Regions from separate parts of the Homo sapiens genome. Here all the other regions are linked to region 1. Evidence: promoter capture Hi-C in human tissues and cell types (Jung and others, 2019). All regions are on one chromosome and are shown on one strand. The core of a region is centred on a gene start or on the middle of the fragment in contact, and the rest is flanking DNA. Distances in the headings are between cores, read along the strand shown. Region 1 holds the start of CAAP1 (caspase activity and apoptosis inhibitor 1). Region 2 overlaps TEK (TEK receptor tyrosine kinase). Region 3 overlaps TEK (TEK receptor tyrosine kinase).

Region 1 (4,412 bases), core at 1,035-3,534:
TAAGTTTTTGGACAGGGGTTTTTAAGGGAATTTTGGTGGGTAGGGGGCTGAGGAGCTAGGGGTTGCTGATTGGTTAGGGCATGGGGGATGTAATCATAAGGAGGTAGAAAGTGCATTCTTGTGCTGAGTTCGTTTCTCAGAAGGGGTCTTCAGACTGAGTAGCATCAGTGACCCCACTGATATGGTTCCAATGACTGGAGGAACACCACAGTCTTTTGTCTCGTGCTGGTTTAAATAAAACGATACAGACACAAGTGGAATTGTTTTAAGGAGCGGAGAATTTAATAGGCAAGAAAGAAGAGGCTCCCTCATACAGAACCAGAGGGAAGAGGGCTCCCAGATGAAAGAGGGAACCTTGGGTGCAGCAGACAAGAGCCAGTTATATTATGAGGCTGGAGGAGGTGGTGACTAATTTGCATATGACCCAGGGAATTGGTTTGACCAGGTATGTCATTCACGTAGCCTGCAAAAAAAGTGGCCCTCCCACCCTAGCCTTTTAATATGCGAATGTAGGGTGCCACAATGTTCTACACATGTGGGGATATGTGGGGATGGCCATGTTGCTAGGCACATGTGGGGACAAGAAGAAGAGGGGAATCGCCATACTGAGTAAACCCAGTTTCTAACGGCCTGCATTTGCATATCATAGCTTGCCAGCCCAGCTTTTTTGCTAGACAAGAAACATTTCTGGAGCTGCTTTAAAAGAAAAAAAACTTCCCAAAGACCCCTTTACCTCTCTATCTGCCTAAAATAATTTCTTAACTTCTGTAACACCATTGGAGTACAGAATCTGGTAAATATCTCAAAATGGAAAACTTGAGATTTCTTAACCGAGTCAAAGATATCTATAAAGCAATAAGCAGCTATAAGGAAGTGGGCTATAGGAAAAGTTGGTTAACGTTTAGCTATGCTTCTACTAAAAGCTTATCTTTTGTCACAAATCCAGCAATTTGGCAGGGCACGATGGCTCACGCCTGTAATCCCAGCACTTTGGGAGGCTGAGGCGGGTGGATCACCTGAGGTCGGGAGTTCGAGACCAGCCTGACCAACATGGAGAAACCCCTTGTCTACTAAAAATACAAAATTAGCCCTGCATGGTGGCGCATGCCTGTAGTCCCAGCTACTCAGGAGGCTGAGGCAGGAGAAATGCTTGAACCCGGGAGGCGGAGGTTGCAGTGAGCCGAGATTGTGCCATTGCACTCCAGCCTGGGCAACGAGAGTGAAACTCCGTCTCAAAAAAAAAAAAAAGAAAAAAGAAAAAATCTAGCAATTTAGTTTTATTAAAATTATGATGGTTTCAGGGACACAATTCATAACAGGTTTATAAATGTAACATGTTATTAATTTTATGTGTTTTTCCTATCTGTGAACACAACACTCTCAATCCTTTCAGGTATGACTCCAATGAGTGTGATACTTAACGGAACTCCTGGGAACACAGTGGGCTCAGCCCCAGGATTTACCTTACAAGGCCAATTTAAGAGTGGGGCCTGGGGGAAGACAGTTTTCCTAGGGCTGGAAGTGTCCCTATTTATTAACCCTAGGCTGGTTTTAGGCATTTAAGTAGTTGTTGAATGACTGAGACAAATAGGAGACAAAGAGAAGGGAAGCTTCTTTAATTGCTTCTTACCCCAGGGAAAGGCACAGAATTACTACCACCCAGCTAGCTTTGCCCCAGGCTCTACCTTTTTCCCTCAGTGGCTAAAGGCCCCTGCTGAAACGACAAAGACCTTGGTTCACGTTTTAAGTGTTCTAGCTCCCTTGTCTTAAAATCTGCCTTCTATTTAGATTACATCCACCCATAAAATCTCATAAAGCTTTGACCCATTCTCAATTTTCAAAAACGAACTCAAGCTCTACTTGTCCATGTCAGACTCTACGCAAGAAATACCTAATTTGCCCAGGTGATGAGGAAAATGAGATGGAACAACTTTTCCCTATTCTCTTTATTGTCATAGCGTTGTTAATATCTTAAGATTTGGAGGTAAACGGAAATGGAGAATCAGCAACTATACTTCAACCTTATTGTAAACAGACAAAACACTAACAATAAAAAGTTTTGAAGTTAAAAGGACGTAAGTTCCACCTTCTATCCTTTGTAGAGATATAAAAACAAAACAAAACAAACTCTGACTAGACAGGCTACCCGCTACACACTCAAATCGACCTCCGCGACCGGAGGGGGAAGCGCAACTGGTTATGGCAACCCCCCTGCCACCCCGGCCCATAACGCTTCACCACGTTCTGTGCCACGGCCGGAAGTGACGCATAACCTGCGACGCCAGTGCCTGCCGCCCACGGCCGCAGGAGTCGGGCTTCGGTCGCACCAGAGACAGCGGACTTTCCTCCGATGGTTGCAGCAGAGGGATCATGACGGGGAAAAAGTCCTCCCGGGAGAAACGGCGCAAACGTAGCAGTCAGGAGGCGGCCGCAGCGCTCGCGGCCCCGGACATCGTACCCGCGTTGGCCAGCGGCAGCAGTGGAAGCACTAGCGGCTGCGGGAGCGCCGGGGGCTGCGGGAGCGTCAGCTGCTGTGGGAACGCCAATTTTAGTGGAAGTGTCACCGGCGGTGGGAGCGGCGGCAGCTGTTGGGGCGGGAGCAGCGTGGAGCGCAGCGAGCGCCGGAAGCGGAGGAGTACCGACTCTTCCAGCGTCTCGGGCTCCTTGCAGCAGGTGCGTGCGCGCCCCTCTGGCCGCTTCCTGGAGCTGCTGCTTTTTCGGAAGAAGTCGGGCTTCCAGAGGGATGGGGCGCAGGCTGGAGCTCACTGCTAGCGCGGCAATCTCAAGGTCGTCCGTCCTTGAGGTTCATGTTCCTACCTAAGTCCTGGTGAGCCCCACACTCCCATCCGTGTCTTGAATCTTGAACTTCAAGTTTCTGGATTTCCTGATCACTTTTTTTTTAATTTATTTTTTAAACTCTTGGCTCCTTCCACTCCTATGGTTTCACTCTGCCGGAAGAATACGAGTTGGAAGCTAGCCTTCATTTCCCTTGCGAGCCAAACACTTCTCCCTTCGTCTTCACCTTTTCGTAGATATGGTTAACTCCGCATTAGAGATAAGAAAATTGAGGCCCAAAGAAGTTAAACTTTACCCACGGTCACAGAGTTTGTTAATAGCTCCTAGGTTTGAATCCAAATATCTGACTACAAAAGCCATGTTCTTTATACGCCACCAGTCTGCCAAGAGAACGCCGTTTTAAAAAAGTTCATAATTTGTTTGAAAACAAATGAATGAATAGGTACTTTAAATTCATTCAATGAGGAAATAAAGGGAAAGCGTCAAGTCCCTTTTCTTGCCCCTCCATTAGTATTTTGATACGCGGCCTCTTTTAATCACTCCTCGTGAGATACGTGTTTTTAAGTTCCTACACTTAAGCTGTATTGTGTTATTCCCGCTGTTGAATACCTGCATTGTTGTGATAGGCTTCTTTATATACGTGGTTTGTTATTTTTACTGACTGCCTGGTATTGTATTATATTTTTCTGATATTTGGGTGTGCAGGTTTTTTTGTATTGTTGTGACTACAATACAAACACCTTTATGTATATATCTCCTACAAGAGTTATGTTGGGAGAGAGTGTGAGAACTGAAATTCCTGGGTCAAAGTTTATGCTATTAAAAACTTATGAATGCCACCAAATGCTTTCCAAATGAGACTTTACAGATTTATAGTCCAAACAGTATATATATAAGAATACCTATTTCTGAGATTCTTAACTAGCTTTTGATGACATTTTGATGGCATTTTTTAAAAAAATTGCCAGACTAGTGGGTCAAATTAATAGTTTGTTTTAATTTTTATTTTCCTTATTAGTGAGATTGAACATTTTAATATTTTTATTTGCCATTTGATTTCTTCTTATGTAATTTTCTGTACATATCCTCTGCTCATTATTCTCTTTGGTAGAGTAGAAACAGTTTATGTAGAGATTTTATCAGGTGGTTTTCTGGCATTCTGTTGAGATGATCACATACTTTTTCTCCTTTAGTCAGATAATGTAATTTGTTGATAAGTTAGTTGATGTTGAACAGTCTTTGGAGTCTTGGGACAAGTGCTGTTTGGTTTGTTGAGTTTGTTGTACTTGGCTGGAATTCAGTATTTTTACTTTCATGTATGTGTTTCTTTTTTTTTGTTTTTTTTGAGACGGAGTCTCGCTCTGTTGCCCAGGCCGGAGTGCAGTGGCGTGATCCCGGCTCACTGCAAGCTCCGCCTCCCGGGTTCAGGCCATTCCCCTGCCTCAGCCTCCCGAGTAGCTGGGACTGCAGGCGCCCGCCACGACGCCCAGCTAATTTTTTGTATTTTCAGTAGAGACGGGGTTTCACCGTGTTAGCCAGGATGGTCTTGATCTCCTGACCTCGTGATCCACCCGTCTCGGCCTCCCAAAGTGCTGGGATTACAGGCGTGAGCCACC
Region 2 (4,412 bases), core at 1,217-3,716, 310 kb before region 1:
TACCCAAGAAACTCAGATGTAGTCAAGGAGTAGAAGAAACCCAAGTGAATGCATTTCTAACAGTGTCCCCAGGAACTTATATACAGTTAACCTATGAAGACTGTGGTTTGCAAAATGTGGTCCCCAAACCCACAAGATAGCATCACTGGAAAACTAATGAAAAATGCAGATTCTCTGGCCCTGCCCTAGACTGAGTCAGAAATTGTGGGGTAGGGCCCAACAGCCTGTTTTTAAACAAGCCTTCCAGGTGATTCTGATGCACACTCAATTTGGAGAAGCACTGCTTTAAGAGAAACAATGATGCTCCGCAAAAGTTAGCCATATATGACCAAGAATCTATAGTATCTCATCCCAATGAATCAAGACAGTGATGTTTAAATGGCTCCTGCCTTTGTATTGATATCCTGACTATCACAGGCTCAACTTCAAAGGAAGCATAACCTTCAGTTGCAAATAACAGCTATGTCTGATACCATGCCAATTTTTTGTAAGACCATAGAGGAAAGAATGAGCAGGAAATCAAGTTTTCTCCACACCCTCACGCAATGCTGACTCTATCTGGTCAACCACTGACCTTTCATTCTTTTGATGGCAGCATCCATCCGTAACCCATCCTTCTTGATGCGCGCCTTAAGAACTTGGCCAAAATTGCCCTCCCCAATCACATCTTGAAATTTGATGTCATTCCAGTCAAGCACTGGATAAATTGTAGGATCTGGGTTGTTTTTGACCTTCCTGTTTAGGGCCAGAGTCCCTGAGTTGAACTGCACAGCTGGTTCTTCCCTCTGGAAAAATAATTATTTCATCATTTTGTGTCAGGATTTTTCATAATTCTAAGGGGCATAATGTCTTCTGGTTGGCATCCACACCAGATGAAAAAAGAAATACTGTATTTAATTCTAGACTGGAAAGGGAAATAGGTTTTCATCACACAGGACTGCCCTGATAAACCAGCTGCCCACAGGGCTGCACGGGCACAATTCTGGGCCTCCCCAGAAAAGCCTGTTGATTAGCAATGTCTGTAAAGGGTGACGGAGGAAGGAGTAACAGTACATATTCCATGTGTTTGCCATCCTTGCGTTAGTTGTACGTGAGTTCCCTACAGTGTTGTGAAATGAGCAAGCGTTCAGTTCTGGTTTGGAAACTAACTTGGAGAGCCTATGTGGGGCAGCCACAGGATGCGCCTCAGTGAGAGCTTTCTTAGCATTATCTTGATCCTACTCTATTTTTAGTGCACACTCTTTCTCTCTCGTAGTAAGGCTTAGAATCTCTAAGTCCACTCTGGCCACAAGATGATTGAAGCTTAGAGCCAAACCCAACACAGTATCTCTTTCTCCTGAATTCAAATAGCTGCTGGTGCTACCATGAAAAAGCACCGGTATTTTGACAGGCTCAGCACTCCCAACCCCCTTGCTGGCCCTTCTTCTCCAGCGACAGCCTGAATTGAGCCAGCTCTGGCATGGAGTCAGATAGTGAAGTTCCTCTTGTCCTCCGTGGAAGGGAAACTCGGGGACTCATGCACATGGGGTACACCTCATTTGAATCATTGCACTCAATGCATTATATACAGAATTGATAAAGTCTGGTTCAAATTAATTTTACAGGGCCTGAACCCACAAACTAGATACATTTTCAGGCTTTAGTATACCAAAAGAACTCAAATAAGATGCCTCTTGGTAAAGTGTGATTTTTATAGGCCTTTGCTACTGGTTAGAATTCCTAGATGAAAAAAAAAATGAGGCAGTACCAAGTGCCAGGAACTCTGACTTCAGACTGAGGGTACACAGGAATGGAAGACACACACAGGTATATACAATTCTTACACATACGAGGGGTGATAAGATTGAGGGACTTACTAGAAAGAAATGGGAACTGGAAATAGGCAAATGTGAGGAAAACTTGTCTAATATATTACGTCATTACCTATCTCACTGAGGTCTGGTTACCCTCTGTCCTTCCTTACCAAAAATGTTCAATTTATTCTGTTGCAAGATATCATCTCTGGGGACTTACTACTAGGATGACCATATGTCTCATTTCAGCAGGCAGGGGCAGACCTAGTTTCCTGCATAATTTACTAAGAGCACCCTTTTCACTCTCAAAATTGTTCTGGTTTGGATAAGAAATTAAAAAGTCATACTTTTTATCTCCCATTTCATAATGAAAGCCAAAGAGAAGATGAGGCTTGCCTAAGGGAAATATTTACTTTATAAGTAAATTTCCTGGTCCATATCTTTAAAGTGAAGGTTCTGCCTGTACTTGGACTTGCCCTTATTAGCTAGTAGGAAGATGAGACACTACCACGTTTTGGAAGGCTTGGGCCATTCTCCTTTGCACATTTGCCCTCTTCAATTGCAATATGATCAGAAAGGCCAACAGCACAGTCAGGCAGGTCATTCCAGCAGAGCCAAGGATGGCTATAAGCAGCATCTTCCCCCCTCCGAGGTCCGCTGGTGCTGTGCAGGAAGACAGAGGTGAAGCAGGTAGTTTAGTTTACATAGAGAAACAGACCCACACCGTATGTGGGAGAAGACACAGTGTAATGGGAACTTAACAGCAGCCTTAACCCTGCCACCTAACCACTATATGACCTCGGGCTACTCATTTATATTCCAAACTCAGTGGAGATGAGTCTGACTCACAGGGTTGTAATAAGATTAAAAAAAAAAAAAACATGCAAAAGTGCTGTTACAATTAGCAATATGCTAATCATTAGTTGTCATTTGTTCAACTTTTATTTCCAAGTAGAATCCCAAGCAAATGAACAATGTTGAATAATAGGGAGAATTACTACAGGTATAACTTTGAGAGAGTGACTAAACCTCCCTAAACCTCAATTTCCCCACCTAGAAATGCTTTAAAGTTCAATGATGCTAAGAGCTTACAGTCTATCAGGTATTTTGTTTTGTTTGTCTTGTTTTAATGAGTTAATGAAGAAAACCTAATGATACCCAATAGAAGAAGAGAGAGAGGGAGGGAGGAAGACAGGAAAAGACAGAGGAAAAATTAAATTTAGGGCTCAGGTCAAAATAAACTATTAAAGACTATGGTCAAATCTATTTCTTTTCCTTATTTAAATAAAATTAAACTCGATATATTTTTATTAGCAATAGCACATAGAACATGATCTCGTCCTCTTAAAAGTATCCCTCTCTTCTCATTTATCTTTTCTTCTATCTCTATATATGTACAGATACAGAGATGTCTAGAATGGTGAGAAACTTTTGGTTTTGTCTTGTTTTAAAAGTTTTCTCTTGGTATTTTATGTATAGCTTGAATTTAGGAAGTTACATTTCGCCAAAACACAAGTAATTACAAAAATGGGGCATTCACTAAGAGTGTGACCTGAAAACCATGATTTTCTATATTTGGCAGACTCTTCATTCCTTGAGCATTTCAAAAATGTTCCAAAGAATCAGCACTGTTAAAGCGACTTGTTTGATTTTGTTTCTTAAGGTCTAGGTAATCCTCCAAGAGAACCAAGAAGTTTTCAGATTTAGTTATAGTATTTTCTTTAAAAACAGACTGTAATCCAAATCATAAATTTTCAAAACTTGCCTCTAACGTGCCTCCATCTACATTCTCTGGCACACATTGTACACAACACAGAGAGCCGGGAGGTGCCTCTGCACAGACTTGAAGTCAATCCTCCTGCTGCAGCTCCACCCACATGGGACCCTTGTTCACTTAATTACACTCAACAGACTTTATCAATCACAAATGGTGGGCACAGTATGGCATCCAGAGAGGATCTCTATCTAGCTCAAATCACATACTTTTCCTGGGGTTGGGGTTAGTGGTGGACATGGAATAACCTGCATCAGTAAAGTAGAAGAAGACTCAGAATTGCACAATGTCATCCAAGCTAAAAAAAGGAGTGTTTGAGGAAGAATGGAGCATGGTTCTTGGAGCCTCCTACTGGAGCTCTTGCATAGCTTGCCTTCTATAAGCAGCTCCCACATTCTTCTTTCTCCTAGGAATTAAAATTCATATTCCTCAGAGCTTTCTTCTTAGATTGCTGGATGGGGTATGCTGATAGACTGATCTATTCTAAGGTTCAATAATAGAAAACGGACCAACAGGGATCCTTCTCAGAGGCATTTTGATATTAAGGACCTCTCTGTAAATGCCTGTCCATTCAACCACCGACTTTTCATAGGCTTTCATCTCACAGGCCTGTCCTGATAAACCAGCTGCCTATAGGGCTGCACGGTAATCCTATGTAAATACTTGTCCATTCAACCAACCTTGAGATTCTGGGAGGGTCACCAGTTCATGAGAAAAGGCTGGGTTGCTTGACCCTATGTTGTTCTCTGCAAAAATGTCCACCTGGTATGCTGTTTCAGGCTCTAGGCCCTTGAGCTGATACTGAGTGATGGTGGCATTCTTTATCTTCACATCAACGTGCTGGT
Region 3 (4,412 bases), core at 1,023-3,522, 290 kb before region 1:
CATCCTTGGCACCCAGCTCTGTCAGTTCCCCAGGAGGCATATTCCCAACCATGCAGAGCAGTACTGGCCAACAGAAGAAATCAGTGAGGCTGCAGTGAGTCAGTTCTGCCTCTCCAGGAATAGGGCATTTTATCAAAGCCAACAACACACTAGCCTAGGAGGATAAAAGCACTGAATGGTATCTATCATTTAGTGGGGTGATTACTACACTGAAGCATCTCATGCTTTAAGAAGGGCAAATTAAGAATGGCTCTTACATGGAGCACTGTCCCATCCGGCTTCACCAGGGTCATTTCTTCATTAGTAGGTAGCGGCCAGCCAGAAGCTTTGCAAATGGGATTAAATTTACCACTGTTTACTTCTATATGATCTGGCAAATCCACTATCTTTGGGGTCATCCTCTGTATGCCTGAAGGAAGAAAACAGCACTGTGAAATCTAATATTTAACAGAGCCAGCAGCAGTAGTAATAATAAAAATAGCTACTTTAGTAAGTCATGCACCGGGCAAGAACTTTGCAAATATTTTACTGTTTTGTCATCACATAAGACACCTGTGATGTGGATGATATTGTGGTCTCCCATTTTATGGATGAGGAGACAGAGGCTCACAGCCCAGATTCAGACTCAGATCTTTATAAATCCAGAGTCCACGCTCTTTGCCATGAGGCTGTGCTCCTTTCATGGACCAGGGAGGAACAGTCTCAATATTAAAATGATTATCATGGCCATATCTCCCCTAGACTTTGCTGTTCAATCCCCCTCTTTCTTTTTACATGAATGATTACAAAAATACAACAAACAAAAAACTAGTTCTTCCTCCACTCATCAAATAACCCCATGGTATTGCTGTTCAACAGCATTGACCTCAGTTTAGATATACGAGAGATGTCTCATTCATTGGGAAGTCTGCAAATAGCAGATAACTAAGAGGAAAAGGTGAATAAAGTTGCTCACAAAAGAAGTACATCAAAGAAGTGAAATATAACTTCCCCAAATCAGTATCCACTCAACAGCCAAATCAAAAATGTTGCTGCCAATATTGAAAGAAGGAAAAATGTCTGTAGTGTCAATAAAGGTAATGGTGTCAGGATTTCTTGCCTAACATCTACACAGTAGAGAATGAATAACCCTGAAATATACCAATTTTATTCTGAACCATAGGGACTCAGGGAACTGTGGACTATTTGTAATTGAATGTGAGACATGTTTGAAAATTGTCCAACACTCAGTAAACAATGTAGGCGATAGAGGTGCCCTCAGAGCAGCAGTAACTACAGACTGTTTCTTATCGGTGGTGGGAAGAGGCGGGGTCAATAATGATATTTTATACTGATATCCTACTTCTCAGGCCTAGAATGAAATGGGTAAAGGTGTGGAGGAGAAGGGAAAGAGGTCTAATACTTACAAGGTTATTCCTTGATATATCTGTAAACTTGGAAAGATTATGGAAAACGTGCCAAGTTTTTCAGCCTAAGTAGCTATTTGAATAGGAATTGAAAAACATGTTTTGACACTTTTAAAGCATTTCTTTCCTTCATCGTCCCCTTGTATTTTCTGAAGCTGGGTGGGGGTGAAGGTGGATGTGCTGGGCTAAAGTGGAATCTGGGAAGGGAGCTACTCTCTGAAAGCCCTAGTGACACCCTGGTTAACCTGTCTTAGATTCTCCCATCAGAATGCACTCCTTTTGCAGCATCAGCAGAAGGGAACAGACGGGAAGGAACAAAGCACAAAATTCAAATCCTTAAACTTGTTAGCTGCCCACGTTCAATACAATCCCCTAGTAGCCCCATGGCATTTCCTTCCCTTTCTAACCACTCCCTGATTCCTGCCCTGTAGTAAAGTCCAGGCTTGGCAAAAGAAGAAAAAATATAAAGTTTAAGGACTTTGAGAAAACACTTACTGGCATCCCACCCCCACTCCCAATATTTGTTCTGATTTCCAAAAGTAACAGAAAAAAAGGCCATAGCTGTATTATTGTGAGTGTAGATTTCACTGGATATGTATTTATTTCAATGGCATTTATATTTATATGATTGAAAAAGCAATACATATTTATTAAGTTTGAAAATACATATGTCTGCTTCTTTTAATTTTAAAAAGTATATTCTACGACAGTGGATAGCAAACATTTTCTGTAAAGAGAGCAAATACAGTCAGCTTTGCAAGCCATGTTTTCTGCCCTTGTAGTACAAAAGCAGCCACAGACGACATACTATAAATGAATGGAGGTGGCTGTGATCCAAAATTTTTTTCTTTATAATAACAGATGGTGAGAAATAAAAAAGGAATGAAGTACTGATACATGCCACAACATAGATAAACCTCAAAAAAGGTGTGGCAAATGAAGCTAGTCACAAATGACGACGTATTATACAATCTTGTTTACAGCATATAAAATGTCAAGAACAGGCAATCTACAGAGACAGAAGATATGGTTGACCCTTGAACAATACAGGCTTCAACTGCATGGGTCCACTGACATGTGGATTTTTTTCAATAAATATATTGGAAAATTTTTTGGAGATTTAGGATAATTTGAAAAAACTCACAGACAAACTGTGTAGCCTAGAAATACCAAAAAAATTAAGAAAAAGGTATGTCATGAAGGCATAAAATATATACAGATACTAGTCTCTGTGTTAATTGACTATGTTATTGGTAAGGCTTCTCGTCAACAGAAGGCTATTAGTAGTTAAGTCTTTGGAGAGTCAAAAATTATATGTAGATTTTCTACTGCGAGAAGGGTCAGTACCCCTAGCCCCCATGTTGTTTAAGGTCAACTGCAAATAAATGGTTGTCAGAAATTAGGATGATTGGAAAATGGAAGTTTCTATTAATGGGTACAAGGTTTGTTTTGGTATGATGAATATGTTGTAAAATTAGATTATGGCAATGATGGCATAGCTCTGTAAATATACTAAAAACCACTGAATTTACATTTTAAAAAGTTGAACATTATAATATAAAAAATGTATCTCTATAAAGCTGTTTAAAAAAAGATAGTGGGCTGGATTTAGTCTGTGGGTTAAAGTTTGCTGACTCCTGCTGAAGAGTAACTTCTGAACTAGAATGACATAAAATTTCATTTTGAGCATAATCTTTTCTATTTGTTTTATTCTTTCTATTGCTTTAAAAATATCCCCTGTCTAAATCCATCCCAAATTGCTCTTTCTCTGTTACGCATGTCCAGGGAAAAGGTTGGTCCTAGAGAAGGGAGCAGAAAAGGTAGGAGAGCTCTCAGCTGGCCAGTCATCACTTAAGCTGCTACAAAGAGCACGTGGTTTATGCCTAGTGCAAAGACAAATAAAGCCTACTATTAGGGTCAGTAGAGCAGAATTAAAATGCTGTGCTTTAGGATTTAGGATAAACTATTCCCAACTTCTGGATGGAAACAAAAGAGGCTTGAGGATCTTAGAATGCCGGCACAAGAATTACACTACCAAAGCTCAGTTCAGACATGCTGAACATGGCCCTGACTACAGTGTTACCTTGCTTTACCTTCTCTCTCACACTGGAGCCCCTGCCATCCTGGAGAGCAGAGACATCCTTGGAAGCGATCACACATCTCCCCATTGTTGCAGCTGCACCTAAGCTTACAATCTGGCCCGTAAAAACCAGGGTGGCATGCTGTAAACAGAGACATCAAAAAACCAGTATTAATCCAGGGGAAGAGAGGAAACTAAGACTGCAGGTGTTTAGTTTTATTTTTCTCTCTAAGCCATCAACTTTGCTGATTTGTGTAAGGTAGGGGGTAATTTATCTGAATTACCAGGAACTTAAAAAGCTGGGGAGTTATGCTTCCAAAAAAAGTTGAATGAGCTCCTATCATGCCAACTTTCTTGTAGGTACAACTACATTTAGAAAATAACTTCCTGAAAGCACTTAAGAGTGGGATAGGAAGAAAAAAGACCTGGAAGATTCTGGAGGGGAATTGAAATTTGGAAGATGGGAATGATGTGTTTCCCAATTTTCAGCTTTTAGCCTAACTGTTAGGTACAGTTGACACCACGTATGGAAGCTACAACTCCAAAGAAAACCTGCAGTCTACTGGCCTGATGCATCAGAGACAGAGTCAGGAAAACCACAGCCACTGGAGAGAGAGGGAAAACCCAGAAAGAGTCAGAGAAAAGTCCCAGATCTTTGGCTGATCCTTGATCCATGCATGCTCAGTATAGACTCAAAGCAGCCCAGCTAAAGATAAAAGAACTAAACTGAGTTTGACCTGATTCCTAACAGTGAGAGTTTGAGGTTTGAATCCTACCAAGTTAATTGCCTGCTAAAACAAAACAAAATCAACATTCCCAAAAGGAATGTATCATATTCCAGAGTCTCCATAATGTAACATTTTCAATGTTCAAGATACAATCCAAAGAAGAAATGGAGAATTAAGGCCCGTTTTTTAAAGGAAAAG

What was found. The method cuts DNA at HindIII sites, captures the fragments that hold promoters and counts their contacts. A contact is called where the count stands out against the background at its distance.
Region 2: a contact is called between a fragment that was not itself captured here and the fragment with the promoter of CAAP1 in region 1, in 1 of the 25 tissues and cell types used here (aorta).
Region 3: a fragment that was not itself captured here is called in contact with the fragment with the promoter of CAAP1 in region 1 in 1 of the 25 tissues and cell types used here (aorta).

The regions. Positions count from the first base shown.
Region 1 is chr9:26,890,674-26,895,085 of GRCh38, reverse strand. CAAP1 (caspase activity and apoptosis inhibitor 1) reads left to right here and starts at 2,284. Exons shown (of 6, transcript NM_024828.4): 1 at 2,284-2,673. The coding sequence starts at 2,371. RefSeq lists enhancers at 2,055-2,124, 1,726-2,305, 2,255-2,474, 2,555-2,734, 2,306-2,885. The HindIII fragment of the contact is 6,456 bases long and covers 1,268-4,412 here.
Region 2 is chr9:27,202,955-27,207,366 of GRCh38, reverse strand. TEK (TEK receptor tyrosine kinase) reads right to left here. Exons shown (of 23, transcript NM_000459.5): 13 at 4,248-4,412; 14 at 2,302-2,456; 15 at 575-785. Among named protein-coding and RNA genes, the nearest start is that of EQTN, 92 kb to the left of the region's middle. The HindIII fragment of the contact is 5,966 bases long and covers 1-4,412 here.
Region 3 is chr9:27,179,456-27,183,867 of GRCh38, reverse strand. TEK (TEK receptor tyrosine kinase) reads right to left here. Exons shown (of 23, transcript NM_000459.5): 7 at 3,500-3,628; 8 at 258-409. Among named protein-coding and RNA genes, the nearest start is that of TEK, 72 kb to the right of the region's middle. The HindIII fragment of the contact is 4,280 bases long and covers 133-4,412 here.